Regions from separate parts of the Homo sapiens genome. Here all the other regions are linked to region 2. The links are contacts of gene promoters, found by promoter capture Hi-C in blood cells and fetal thymus (Javierre and others, 2016). All regions are on one chromosome and are shown on one strand. The core of a region is centred on a gene start or on the middle of the fragment in contact, and the rest is flanking DNA. Distances in the headings are between cores, read along the strand shown. Region 1 overlaps UTP25 (UTP25 small subunit processome component). Region 2 holds the start of G0S2 (G0/G1 switch 2). Region 3 has its middle 2.9 kb from the start of IRF6.

What was found. The method cuts DNA at HindIII sites, captures the fragments that hold promoters and counts their contacts. A CHiCAGO score of 5 or more calls a contact.
Region 1: a fragment that was not itself captured here is called in contact with the fragment with the promoter of G0S2 in region 2 in 1 of 17 cell types (neutrophils); the score reaches 8.0 in neutrophils.
Region 3: a contact is called between a fragment that was not itself captured here and the fragment with the promoter of G0S2 in region 2, in 2 of 17 cell types (neutrophils and monocytes). The highest score is 12.7, in neutrophils.

Annotation. Positions count from the first base shown.
Region 1 is chr1:209,839,353-209,844,112 of GRCh38, forward strand. UTP25 (UTP25 small subunit processome component) reads left to right here. Exons shown (of 12, transcript NM_014388.7): 8 at 1,501-1,703; 9 at 2,913-3,095; 10 at 3,231-3,343; 11 at 4,099-4,344. Among named protein-coding and RNA genes, the nearest start is that of UTP25, 14 kb to the left of the region's middle. RefSeq lists an enhancer at 452-746. The HindIII fragment of the contact is 1,394 bases long and covers 2,347-3,740 here.
Region 2 is chr1:209,673,469-209,677,866 of GRCh38, forward strand. It overlaps G0S2 (G0/G1 switch 2), which reads left to right and starts at 1,944. Exons shown (of 2, transcript NM_015714.4): 1 at 1,944-2,081; 2 at 2,185-2,922. The coding sequence starts at 2,217. The coding sequence ends at 2,528. All of the region lies in intron 1 of HSD11B1-AS1 (HSD11B1 antisense RNA 1), which reads right to left. RefSeq lists an enhancer at 2,056-2,904. The HindIII fragment of the contact is 4,554 bases long and covers 1,507-4,398 here.
Region 3 is chr1:209,806,716-209,811,464 of GRCh38, forward strand. No RefSeq gene overlaps it. Among named protein-coding and RNA genes, the nearest start is that of IRF6, 2.9 kb to the left of the region's middle. The HindIII fragment of the contact is 3,441 bases long and covers 511-3,951 here.

The DNA of each region.
Region 1 (4,760 bases), core at 1,794-4,293, 170 kb after region 2:
AGGCACATGTACATTTATAACAGAAATTTATAGCAAGTTTATAACAGAAGTGTGAAAGCACACCCATAGCTGGTAGCAGATAGATGCTACAAGGGGTTCTCTAGGATGTTGGAAGTGATGGGGCTGATGGGGTCATTCTGGGGAGGCTGAATAAAATGACTGTCTCTACATAAAGGTGGACTTTCTCCTGTGTGCTACATAGATGCCTACCCTGAATAATCTCCACACATGACTTCCACCCAAATTTTCACATTTTTGCTTGTCTCTCATTCAGCTCCCATTGACTTTGGTTGGTTATACCTTTTATAGAGTAAAGTTCTTGGGGAAATGTTCATTAGTCACATATGCTCATTCACAAATACTTATTGAGTATCTACAGTGTGCCAGGCACTGTTAAGAAGCTGGGAATCTACAGATAAATATAGAAATAAAAGTTATAGTTCCCATTGCTAAGGAAATCCAGCCTACGACAGAGCAGGCAGTGCAGGATATGTGTGCAACGGTTGTTCTCGGAGCATTTAAAGCAAACCCCCTTACCCAAAATGGGGGCAGGGTGGTTAGGGAAGATGTCGTGGTGGAGGTGTCATCTGTACTAGGTGGAAACCTGTGTAGGATTCAGCCAGTTTCAAAGGGAGGTGGCTGAGTGGAGGAAAACATTTCAGACAGGAAACTGCCTGTTGCAGAGGCATCAGGGTGACTAAGCTTGGAATGACCTATGATTCACACAGGCTTCGGTATGGTGGAATGTAAGGCATAAGGAGACAAGAGCTCGTGTTTTGTTTGGAACATATATAGCTGTCCAGGAAGCAGTTGGTATATTGTTCTGGAGCTCAGGAAAAAGATATGGGCTGGAAATACACATTTGTGTGAAGGTGACATTAAAGCCATGATCAGTGAGTCAGTTAACCCAAAGCTTTATGCAGCACGAGAGCAGAGCTGACAAGTGAATCCACCAGTTTGCAGAAGAGTTATTTGGATCTGGAAGGACAGACAAGGGCCAGGTCAGTGATAGAAGCAAAAGTGAGAGTTGAAGTCATGGAAACTATTAGCAAGGAAAAGAGCATTGCAAGGCAGCTGTTAGTACATTCTGTGCCGTTTGTACTTTCCTCATAAGAAGCTCTCAAAAGTGTTCATCCTGTTGGTGACTGAGGACTGTGGGGACCTTAGCAAGAGTCATTTCTCTGGAGTCCTGAGAATCAGAGGCCGGATTGCAGTGGAGTGAGAAGTGAAGGAGAGATTTGAAAGTAGAGAGAATTCTCTGGAGCAGTTTGATAGTGACGGAAAGGAAGAGAAGGTAGAAGCTAGAAGGGACTATAGATGCAAGGGAGAGATTTCTCTTGTTCTTATGTTTTAATAATTAAAGCAGTTGAGCACAGTTACATGCTAAGAGGAACAAAAGAGATGTGGAAGCAATAGAAGTGGTGGACTGCTTTGAGAGGGTGGAAGGTAATGGCTTGGTAGTGACTAATGAATTGGTGTGTACTTGGCTGTTTTGTGTAGGAGTGGCAATACTTCAGAGAAGCATCCGACTCTATGCCCCGTTTTACTCCTCGGATATCCTCATTGCTTCCCCCCTGGGCTTGAGGACCATCATTGGTGGAGAAGGAGAGAAGAAGAGAGATTTTGACTTTCTGTCTTCTATCGAGCTTCTCATCATTGATCAAGCTGACATTTACCTGATGCAGAACTGGGAGCATGTCCTGGTAATGCTGGCCATTCACATTCAGTGGGACAGTATTCATATTTAGAGGGATAAGACACCCAGTGGTTTAAGTCCTAAAGAATTATTTAAGTCCAGATTAGAACTCTTGTTTGGAAGCAAGGACACACACTCCACATTTTCTAATTTGAAAAAGTCTTTTGTCCCCTTTTCTACCCAGAGATTGTCCATAATTAAACTGTCTACAGATTAAAATTCCTGTCAGTCATTTTCAAATCTCCAGAAAAGATTTCTTTCCCTTAAAATTTCTTTCTACTAACTTTAGGGTGGGTGGATGGGTGGATGGGATAGGTTGATGGATGGATGGGTCCTCACCAGGAACATCTTTACCTAACATAATCCCACATGTGGTTTTTGCTTATGCTGTTTTGTTTGGTCTTTGGTGAAGATGGGAATACCCTGCTCAAGATTTTTTAAGGTGGGATCTTGTTTTGTAGAGAAATATAGGATGTCTTTATTACCCGATGTAATTTGTACTGTAATTTTTTTCTCCTTCTCCACACACTCTGCAGTGTTATCAGTTTTAGGACTGAAAAACTGCTTTGGAACAATCCTTATTTAGGAACTATAGGTTTATTTTTCTAAGGCATATGGGAACTCACCCCTTCTACAACCCCATGTCTTGAAGCTTGCAGGAAGTTTGGGACAAATGAAGGGTAGAACTTACTTCTAAAGTAGGAAATAAATTTATTGTACTCATTACCCTTCAATATCTATTACAAGGTAAAAATATAATTAAAATGGAAAAGGCATTTGGCATAGTCGAGTTATATTCTTAGATTTGAGGAAAAGACAGGGTGACACTGCAACTATTCCTAATGTTTTGAGAACCAGGTAATTGAGGGACAGCAGCTCTGTTTTCCATGGCATTTCCCTTCTTGTCCAAGTCTGGGACTTAGGGACCCATAGAGAGACCAGTGTGGCATTTCAGAAGTTCATTTTAAAGGAACATTCCTGTAGGTACCATTTTGATCATTTGTTAAAATTCCAGGAGGGCCAGTTTTAGCTTATCTCCTCATTGGGGATGTTTGGCTGACCATGGGCAAGTCACTCACCCATGTGAGCCTCAGTTTTCTTGTTATAATTTAGGAGATGATAGTACATGAGTTGATAGACTCGGAAAATGTTTAGCAATGTCCAACATGTAAATGCTCTCAGTCAACACTAATGGTAATATTATTTCCACTCAAAGCATTTGATGAATCACATGAACCTACTACCCCTGGACTCACATGGGGTAGACTTTTCTCGAGTGCGGATGTGGAGCCTCAATAATTGGTCCAAGTACTATCGCCAGACACTGCTATTTGGGGCCCTTCAGGATGCCCAGATCAACTCAGTGTTCAACAAGTACTGTGTCAACATGCAAGGCCAGGTGGGTTCTCGTCTTGTTTCCTCAGTATCTTCATGAGCACTGTTTATTGTTTGGGTCCTGAGGTAGAAGGAGGCGATAGCTTCTGGTCAAGAAGGGGATGGCTGTCCACCTAACGCTCTTGTTGACTACTGGCAGGTGGCCGTGAGGAATGTCCCAATGACAGGCTCTATCAGTCATGTCCTGGTGCAGCTCCCACATGTCTTCCAGAGGATGGAAGCTGAAAACCTAGCTTCAGTGATTGATGCCAGGTAACCCACTCCTCCCAGCAGGCCCCTGGGGACCACATAGAGAGATTTGACTTGGGCATACAAACCTAGAATTGGATTCCATTTTGCTTTTATTGATAACTACCAAATCAGTTGAGATAATTGAACTTAATTATGTCATTTGTCAGAGGAGGAAACTGAAGCACAGAGAGAAATAGTGACTTTGGCCTAGGTCTCATAACTAGTTAGTAGCAGGGTTATTACTATAAATCAGGACTCTTTCACTCTTGACTGTGGCATTTTAAAATTATACAGCTTTATGCTACAAAGTGTCTCATGTCAGCAAGTTAATTGTAAGCCCCTCAGGGAAAGAACTATTTTTCTAATTGTATAATTTCCCCCTTTTTCTTCATTGTGTTTAGTTAGGGGACCCCAAAGAAGCTTAGTGAGGCTTAGTATATGGTAGATGTTCAGTGATTATTTGTTGACTGTTGGACTGAGTGACTGAGTGACTGACTGACTGACTGAATAGTGTGGTGTGTACTTCCTAGAGTAATTCTCTGGGATATAATGGTATTACATCTGTTTTTTACAATGAATAGTGTTGACACTTATTTTTTTAGTGTGCTTATCAAGTTTTATCCTTACATAATCTCTTTGAGAGGAGGTAAATCATATTGGCCTCTGGGGAGGTAATCTTTTAACACGAGATTGTAATTTGCTCAGGGTCACACAGTTAAGAGACACCATAAGCTTAGCTCTAGACATTAATTTTGCCCTTTGCCATTCCAAATCAGGTTTAACTTTTTTGTGAACAAGATTTTGCCACAGTATCGTGATGCAGTCATGTCTCACACGCTCATCTATATCCCCTCCTACTTTGACTTCGTGCGTCTTCGAAATTACTTCAAGAAGGAGGAATTGAATTTTACCCACATCTGCGAGTACACGCAGAAGTCTGGTGTCTCCAGGGCCAGACACTTCTTCCTTCAAGGAGAGAAACAGTTTCTACTTTTCACAGAGCGCTTCCATTTCTACAAAAGGTAAAGTGGTGCCAGGTTTCAAGCCTCCTCTCTGAAGGGGAGGTGCAGGACAAATCATGGCCTGCTCTGAATGCATGGCAGGCTTCGTGGTGTTGAGATCATCCCTCACTCTCGCACTCTTACAAAGTAGCCAGAGAGTTTTTGGTTTGGACAGACTCTTCTTGGTTGGTTAGTTGGTTTTCTCCCAAAATGGGCATTGCTGAAGAAGGATGTAGAAACCAAAGCATACCCTGTCTATAGACCTGGCATGTAGCTGTGGTTATACACTGCAAGAAGGACATTACAGGACAACTCAAATGAATACAAGGAAGGGGAGGGACCTTCCCTGTATTCACTTGAGTTGTCCCTGTCTAGACTTTTTCCCTCTGTTTGCCCTCAGTGCACAGACAAAAGCATTGAGAACTGTGTTTTCTGGG
Region 2 (4,398 bases), core at 694-3,193:
TGGGTCCCAAGCTAGGCTGACTCACCTTCAGAATGGAAACCACGTGACAGCCCTTATATCAGGGCACACATCACATGCTCTTCCAGAAGTCAATGGGTTTGGAACCCTCACAGATATTGGGAAAGCTCACTAATCATTTCTGCCAGTTATCAGAGGTTGCTCTGAAACTATAAGGAAGATTCAAAGAAAATGCCAAGACTGATATTAAACTTGGCAGGAACCCTTGTTACAGAATTTTCCTGCCTGACAAGGTTAAAAGAACAATAAGCAGGAAACACAGTCCTCCAGGAATAATCAATTCTATTTGGCCCCTGGTCACCTTCACTCAGACTAAATTCTAAAACATAGAATTTCAAATAAGCTATTTAGATAACCTTGACCATTCTCCACACACAAGCCCTTGCCTGAACTATTAATAGTCAAGGCAAAGGGTAGTTGTTATTGCTGCCTTTTTAAACTGAATCATCTGAGAAATTGCTTCAGACCCCCAAAGAAAGATTACTGTTAACAATTCAAAAACTAAAATATTTGATCCCTGAGACAGCCTTTTCCCCCGACCCGCCCTTCAGGGCTCAGTCCGACCGACTGCAAAGGCTGTTGCAAGATTGCATCACTGACCTTTGCAATTTTCTGGCCAGTTTGATTTCCCCTTCTTTCCCCTGCCCCCTCCCTTTCTCTGCTTAAAGGCCTTTGGCCAATTTGCCTCTCCTTTTCCCCAAGTTTGCTAACCCTTTGGCCAATTTGCCTCTCTTTTTCCCCAAGTTTGCTAACTCTAGCATATCCATAACCAAAGCCAAACTAGAACGCTCCCTCAGCCCCAGGTGATTACAGCTAACCCTGGTCAAAATCAATCCTACATCTTCACACGTCCAAGAGTACTCACACTCTGGATTCTTACCTAAGCTGTCTACTACACGCCCTTCTGCCCACAAACTGCTTCAAAGCTGAAGTTGAGCTGGAGCAGTGAAGTTGTACCCCCAAACCCAGGAGGGTGGCAGAGAATTATTGAGGAGAGCATGAAATACTTCCATTCTAAAATGGCAGATGAACTTCTACCAACAGCCCCTTCCATACTTGACCCCCTACCCCCAAGCTCCCAACTCCACTTCTCAAGTGGAAGTGAGAACAATTTGAATTTGAAGGCTCTTCCCTGATACACGGAAGTACATAAGGAAACAGCTCGCAGGCAAAGAGACTAATCTCTCTCTCTTTCTCTCTCTCTCTCTCTCTCTCTCTCTCTCTCACACACACACACACACACACACACACACCTCTGTGCATAAAAGCACCATCAATGAATAGTTTTCTATCAACTGACTCTAGTTATACATGCATGTACCTCTAAATAAAACCAACCAGGCAGGAAAGAAACAATATTAGCACATATTGCTTTATCCAAGCGTAACCTGTTCTGTCCTGTTACCCAGATCCTTCCCCCTTGCCTTCTCCTCTCTGATCCATTGCCACACACGTGGGAAGGTGACAACCCTTCCGAATAAAAATGAAAGCTTTCTTCTTTAGATGGAACCCCCAAATTCCCTCATTATTTATAATGTCAGGCTGTCCTGGACAAGGGAAGCTGTGCACCCGCTGACACCAGTAAGAAGGTTGCCGCCATGTCAGAGATGTCCGCGGACACCTCCCTGGGCTCCGGGTCCTCCCCTGCGCTCGCCTGGAGTGGGACCTTCGCGTGCACACTGGCCTTCCCACGCGCCCCGCTGCGATGGCACCCGCGCCGGGCCCCCTAGCTCACACAGTCGGAGCGTGCTCAGCGCGTGGCCACCTCCTGCCAGGTCCCAGCCGGGTTCCACCCCCTCCTTTTCCCCTCCTCTTCTTCCTCCCCCTCCGAGTTCCCCTGGCTCTGACCGCGCTGGCCTGGGCCGGAGAGCCCAGGAGGCGTGTCTCAGAGAAAAGATATAAGCGGCCCCCGGACGCTAAAGCGGTGCCAGCGGCGGAGTCTCCAACTGGGAGAGCTGCAGCTGCCGAGAGGAGGAGAACGCTGAGGTCGGTCGGACCAACGGACGCGCTGACCGCTGCCAACTGCAGCTCGCGCTGCCTCCTGCTCGCGCCGTGCCACTAAGGTAGTCCGCCTTTCTATGAGCCCTCCCCAAGATTAGCTGGGTGCGGGGTGGTGGGAGCCGTTCTTTGGTGGCTGAAGCCCCTCTCCTGCTGCTCCTCCTGCAGGTCATTCCCGCCTCCGAGAGCCCAGAGCCGAGATGGAAACGGTCCAGGAGCTGATCCCCCTGGCCAAGGAGATGATGGCCCAGAAGCGCAAGGGGAAGATGGTGAAGCTGTACGTGCTGGGCAGCGTGCTGGCCCTCTTCGGCGTGGTGCTCGGCCTGATGGAGACTGTGTGCAGCCCCTTCACGGCCGCCAGACGTCTGCGGGACCAGGAGGCAGCCGTGGCGGAGCTGCAGGCCGCCCTGGAGCGACAGGCTCTCCAGAAGCAAGCCCTGCAGGAGAAAGGCAAGCAGCAGGACACGGTCCTCGGCGGCCGGGCCCTGTCCAACCGGCAGCACGCCTCCTAGGAACTGTGGGAGACCAGCGGAGTGGGAGGGAGACGCAGTAGACAGAGACAGACCGAGAGAGGAATGGAGAGACAGAGGGGGCGCGCGCACAGGAGCCTGACTCCGCTGGGAGAGTGCAGGAGCACGTGCTGTTTTTTATTTGGACTTAACTTCAGAGAAACCGCTGACATCTAGAACTGACCTACCACAAGCATCCACCAAAGGAGTTTGGGATTGAGTTTTGCTGCTGTGCAGCACTGCATTGTCATGACATTTCCAACACTGTGTGAATTATCTAAATGCGTCTACCATTTTGCACTAGGGAGGAAGGATAAATGCTTTTTATGTTATTATTATTAATTATTACAATGACCACCATTTTGCATTTTGAAATAAAAAAACTTTTTATACCATATCTCATGTAATTCCTGAGAGGTGTGGTGTCCTGGGGTGGGAAGCAGGGAGGGTGAGCAGGTGGGCGATGGTGATGGGTTCTTACCTGAGCACTGCAGAGGGAGCAGCTTCCTGAGGGTCAGACACTTGCTTCACACCTAGGAACTGTGTAATAAGTTACTACATGCATATAAGTCTGTTGAGGACTTGTTTTTCCTTCTTGTTAGGGGTGGGAAGAGAGAAAATTTTATAACTTCCGTGAGATTTAGCATTTTAACATCAAAAGGTAGATCAACTTCTGAGCTACAGTGAGTAGGAGATAACTGATTAATTCTAAGGCAGAAAAGCTCTTTGTTCCTTACACCTGTGCACCAGAGGTTCCCATGGCTGATACCTTTTTCTTCCCAACTATATTTTAGACAGACAGACAGAGAGAAGGAAAGAAAATGAAGGAGGGAGGTCTGGAGGTGAAGGGAAGGAAAGAAAGGAAAAACTATCTACCTGGCAGGAAAAGAGATAAGCTCCCAAGAACACCAAAGCAGATGATGAGTCTAGCTCTACCCAGCCTTCCTCCCCACGAATCCAGATCATAGTAAGAAACTCTGGGCTAGAAAGAGAAAAAAACCGGTTGTTACATATCTGAGTCCTCCTCCTCCAGTGTACAGAGCTTCATCTGTAGTAATAGCTAATTCAGTGACTCTATAGGGCTCAGCAAAACAAATTTTAAACTTTAAAGAAGTAGCCAGGAGCCAGAGGCATGGCCTTGATGCTAGTCTCCTCACATTTTTCATGTCACCTGTCCTAATCAGGTACTGACACTTTACTCCTTTCATCAACAGCTATGCATTTTTGCCAAACATATCACTGGCTCACACCATTGCCTCTGCTCAGACTCTCTCCTTCGTCCAATGCCCTACACACATCTCCATTTCATTTCTGCCAACTCAATTCCTACCAAGTGTTCCTGGCCCTGATCAAAAGCCATCTCTTTCTGAAATCTATTCTTATCACTCCCAAAGGAAAAAAGCAATCAGAATGTGGTAAGATTAATCAAGGAAAAGAAACATATTTGGAGTTTTAAAGGAAAAGAATGTCAGTGGCACCATGGCTCTCCCAGTTTCCAAAATGGGAAATTCAGCCCTATACCAAGGCAGAGCCTCACTTTCAATGTCCAAGAAACTTCCTAGGAACTGACTCAATTTTATCCTTCCTGCTGGTCTTCCAAAATGCCTCTTTTATTAATTACTCCTTTACCCATTCAGTTACCACCTTGTCTGGCTCTCAACCGCTCAAGCCACCCCCTGCACCTTCTAGCACATTCACCCTAAACAATCCCTTGTCAGACTGTCTTCCTTTAATATCTTTCATTCTGCTGCTCCTGAACTCAAAAACATCTGAGACTAAAACTCTTATGCCAGGTTTCAGTGCCTCTGTGATGTGCTTCCATCACAGCTGGCCGTCTTGCCTGATTTGTCAGGGTGCCTAGCATGAACCCTGG
Region 3 (4,749 bases), core at 981-3,480, 130 kb after region 2:
TTTTTTGTTGTTGTTTGCTTTTTTCTCTTTCTTTTTTCTTCCTTTTTTTTTTTTTTTTTTTTTGGAGATGGGGTCTTGCTATTAAGTTACACAGTCTGGTCTGCAACACCTGGGCTCAAGGGATCCGCCTCAGCCTCGCAAAGTGCTGGGATTACAGGCACTGGCACCCAGTTCAATTCCTTTTTTTTTTTTTTTTTTTTTTTTTAGGCAGGGTCTGGCTCTGTCATCCAGGCTAGAATGCAGTGGCACAATCATAGCTCAACCTCCTGGGCTCAAGCAATTATCCCACCTCACCCTCCCAAGTAACTGGAAATATAGGCATGGGTCACCATGCCCGGCTAATTTTTTTTTTTTTTTTTTAGAGACAGGGTCTGACTATGTTGCCCAGACTGGAGTTCCTGCTTCCTCTGATCACTATCGTGTAATGAGTAAAAGCATAGCCTCTGGAGCCAACTATTGGGGTTTAGACCCCAACTCCATCAGTTACTACAGACTTGGGAAAGTTTCTTAAGCTTTTTAGGCCCTGGTGTCTTATCTGTAGAAAGAGGTTAGTAATAGTACCTACCTCAGGGGTATTGTGGGAATTCAATAACTACATGTAAACTGCTTGCAACAATATTTAGCACTTATCAAGTGCTTTATATGTACTTGCAATTATTATTGGCATAAAGATTAAAAATACCATATAGACAGTGCGTCAGAGAACAAGAAGGCATTCCTTGTTATTACCTGAAATTCAAGTCCTGCATGTACCCTAACAGGTGCTTGATGAGATTGCCCTCACCTTCCTCATCTATCTAGAGGACCGGTTTGCAGGAGGCTGTGCAACAGTAAATGAGACTTTTAAAAATCCCCCACCCTCAACCACTGAGCTGTCGTAGGTGAAATGGGGCATGCGCAGGTCACTTAGGTTTTGGTGTTTAAAGTAATGAGTGAGAAACTGTGGAGGAGTGGTACAATGAGTTGAACTGTCACCCACATACAAAAAAATTTGTATTTGTATTTTGAAGTCCTGACCACCCCCACTGCAACCACAGCCAGATGTCAGAATATGACCTTATTGGGAGACAGGATCCTTATGGAGGTAATCAAGTTAAAACGTGGTTATTAGGGTGAGCCTGAATCCAATATGAATGGTGTCCTTATAAAAGGAGGAGATTTGGACACAGAGGCAGATACCCACAGAGGGAAGGTGATATGAAGAGACATAAAGAGAAGACAGCTAGCTGCAACCCAAGGAGAGATACCTGGAATAGAGCTCTTTTTTTTTTTTTTTTTTTCACATCCCTCAGACCCTTGATTTTAGACTTTTAAACTCCAGAACTATGAAACAAAAAATTTCTGTTGTTCAAGCCACCCACTCTGAGGTACATTGTTATGGTAGCCCTAGCATACTCATACAAGTGTGTTGAAGAGCCCCAGATTGATAATAATGTAGGCATGATTCCAAGTCCCAATTTAGCTTTGGAATGTAGCCAGCAAAGGCCTGGGAAGGCAGCAAGGCCCCAAGGCCTGACTCAGCCAGCCTCTGTCTCAACCACTGCCCTGTGGCCACTCTTCCCTTCACTGGGGGAAGGGCAAGCTCATCAGCACAGCTAGCTGTTTACTGCTGATGAGCTCACTAGACAAACAGCATCTTCCATCTGGCCCAGGGCTGGGCTCTGGGGACCAAACAAGCTCCACTGCAGGTGTATGAGAGGGATGAGGGGTAAGGCCATTGGGAGAGTGTCATTTGAGGGGAGTCAAAACCCCAGTGGCATACAAGTATGAGCCCACACACAGGCACTCACTTTTGCACCAGCTGAAATTCCCATGACTAAGGGGATGTCTTAAGGACCTTCTTTAGAAGACATATATTTTGGAATCAGAAAACTCAAGCTGGGAGGGTTCTTCTGGACTATCTAGATCAAGACTAAAACTGACTTAGCCAGTTTTTACCCACACAGTATTTTAAATATCAGGAGGTATCACATAAACATCAAAATTCTCAGCATCTCTTAAAGAGTCAAGTGCCCTGGATGCTCTACCAGCAGTTCTACCTGGCAACAGTTGCCCATTTAGAGGGAGTCTACACGTTACAGCCAATACAAACTCACTCTATTGAGCTCACTAATTTACTTTAATTGCCTGACCCTGTAGGCATCTGATTGCAACTTCTAGTCTAAATTCTCCCTTTTCATAGATGAGAAAACTGCGGCCCAGCGAGGTCAAGTGATTTACTCAAGGTCACATGGCATATTAGCCACAAACCAAGACTAGAACACAAACCCGGGGCTCTATCCACTTGGACCCCTGCTCAGCTCCGCAGCCAAAGTCTATTCTGACCTGTTCTGCACTGGCTGTTAACGATTTAAAAAAAAAAATCGCCAGGTGCAATCGCTCACACCTGTAATCCCAGCACTTTGAGAGGCTGAGGCGGGCAGATCACCTGAGGTCAGGAGCTGGAGACCGGACCGACCAATATGGTCAACTCTACTAAAAATACAAAATTAGCCAGGCTTGGTGGCGCATGCCTGTAATCCCAGCTACTCGGGAGGCTGAGGCAGGAGAATTGCCTGAACCCAGGAAGTGGAGGTTGCGGTGAGCCGAGATTGCACAATTGCACTCCAGCCTGAGCAACAAGAGGGAAACTCCATCTCAAAAAAAAAAAAAAAAAAAATCACCCATGGATCTAGGTACTGTTGATATTGTTGATATTGCCATAAACAAAACCAAGTCCCTACTCTCATGTCACTCAACTGAAGAATTAATGAAAGGGGGTAAAGCAGGTGGAATTAAGGTAGAGATCAGGAGGAACTCCCCGGCTCTGCAGGCAACAAGCCCTGACAATAGGCCACCCTGATGTCTTCTATTCTGATACACGCCTCATCTGCTTGATCTGGGGAATAAGAACATCTTGTGAGTCTTTCCACAAGCTCTTGAGGAATCAGTTCTTCTGTATTCTCAAAAGAGCCTCTTCAGGATTCAGTCATTCCCAACATGCCCTGGGCCTGCAATGCTCCCATCATTTTGCCCTCCATTGATAATCAGGTGCGGCATTGCTGACTCACTAGTGAGTCTGAGTTTCAGGTAGTGGGACGTACATTTCAGCACGGGGGCCCTGATTCACAGCCACAGGGAATGAGGGAATTCCCCTCTCCTGTTCCCAGTCAGCTCTCATTTGGTAGGAAAGAGTTTCTTTTTCCACCCAGAGACTTTAAACTCTACAATATCAGACATGTGACAATAAAACCATGAACCCAAATCCCACTCTCTTCTTGGCAGAGCAGAAAGCGTGGCAACTGGGACTCCTCCCAAAGGCTCCATACAGTGGAGAGTTTAGTGTTACTGGAGTTGGTGATAGCAAAGAAGCTGTGCACCTTTGGTGGAGTTGCTAAAGAGTCAGGTAGGGACATTGCACTAAACAATCCAATTCTGTGCTTTCAAAGGAAATCAGACTCCAACCTTCCTTCTGGAAGGCATTCTGGAGCCCATCAGGTCTACCCTCACTTTTCTCTTGGCCCTGGCTTATCTCTGTCTCCATCCAAGTATCTTAAAGCATCAGGGCCACAGGTGATCCTAACACATTGCCTAAGCCACAGCCTAAACTGAATGCACTCTGGTTGTTGCACTCTATAATGGCCTCCAAATTCTAGAATCACCAAGATGGCAGGAAGCATAAAAGAATCTCACTTTCCAATCCAAGCAATGGCACAGACTTTGGCTTTGGACTCTAGAAGAATTCTCCACCAAAGTGTTCAGAACATCTTCTGAGTCTTTCCATAGTTAGAAGACCCTTTTTATCCTTGAAGCAAGCTGAGCACTGGAAAGTGTTCTCAAAGAAGCAGTTTTTTTTATTCCAAACTTGGATCTCTATGGGAGGCGAAGGAGGAAAAGCAAAGCCCAGGAAATTATTTGGAAGTAAGCTCCCCCTTGGGGCCCTCCCTTCATTCTTCTGCCCATTCATTCCAAAGCTTGAGGGTCCACTTCCCATCTTCCCCAGCATGGAGAGCTTTCTCATTGGCTCTGCAGACAAAAGAGCTGAAGAAACTACAACCACCATGAATGTGAGAGTTCAGAGTTCTGATTCAAAGCTGCTTCCCCATTGAGACAAAACAGTGGCCGGATTTTGGCTTCATGGTCAGCACCAAACAACCTATCCTGTGACTCTATGCTGCTTTGAAATGAGATAGTGGATATGGACGCTCTCTGAAACAGGTGGAGTGCTGTGCAGATGGAGCGACCATCACTGCTGTTATCTGCTCTTTGTTTCCTTTGTGTAGATAATTCTCTCCAGGCTTCAGTCAAGCCCTAAGGGCAGCAAGGTGCAGGCCAGACAGGAACTAGCAGAGTGTTAGGCTCAGTTTGAGCTACAGAGCACTGGACAATGTGTCGATTTCAGAAAATGAAGACTCCAGGAGTACAGAATCTTCGGGGAGCAGTGTGGCAAGAAGCTGGATTCCTGTTCAATATGAGTGATTAACCAAATGTGCTTTTCTCTTCTCCCACCCCCCACCACCCCAGATCACCTCAGGTGATCAATGACAGTGAAGGAATTTTTTTAAAACATATTAATCTATAAGGTTAAGAGATGACAAAAAGCATGAGAGTCGAGATAAGAATGGATGAGAGAGCTCAACAAAAATAATAGGAGACAAAATATTATTTCAACAAAAATAGGATGTGTGTGGGGGCTGATGATTTGGTTATAAAGCTTTCAGTCCTATTTGGTTAAATCTTAAAGCAGATTTATATACTATTTAACGAAAA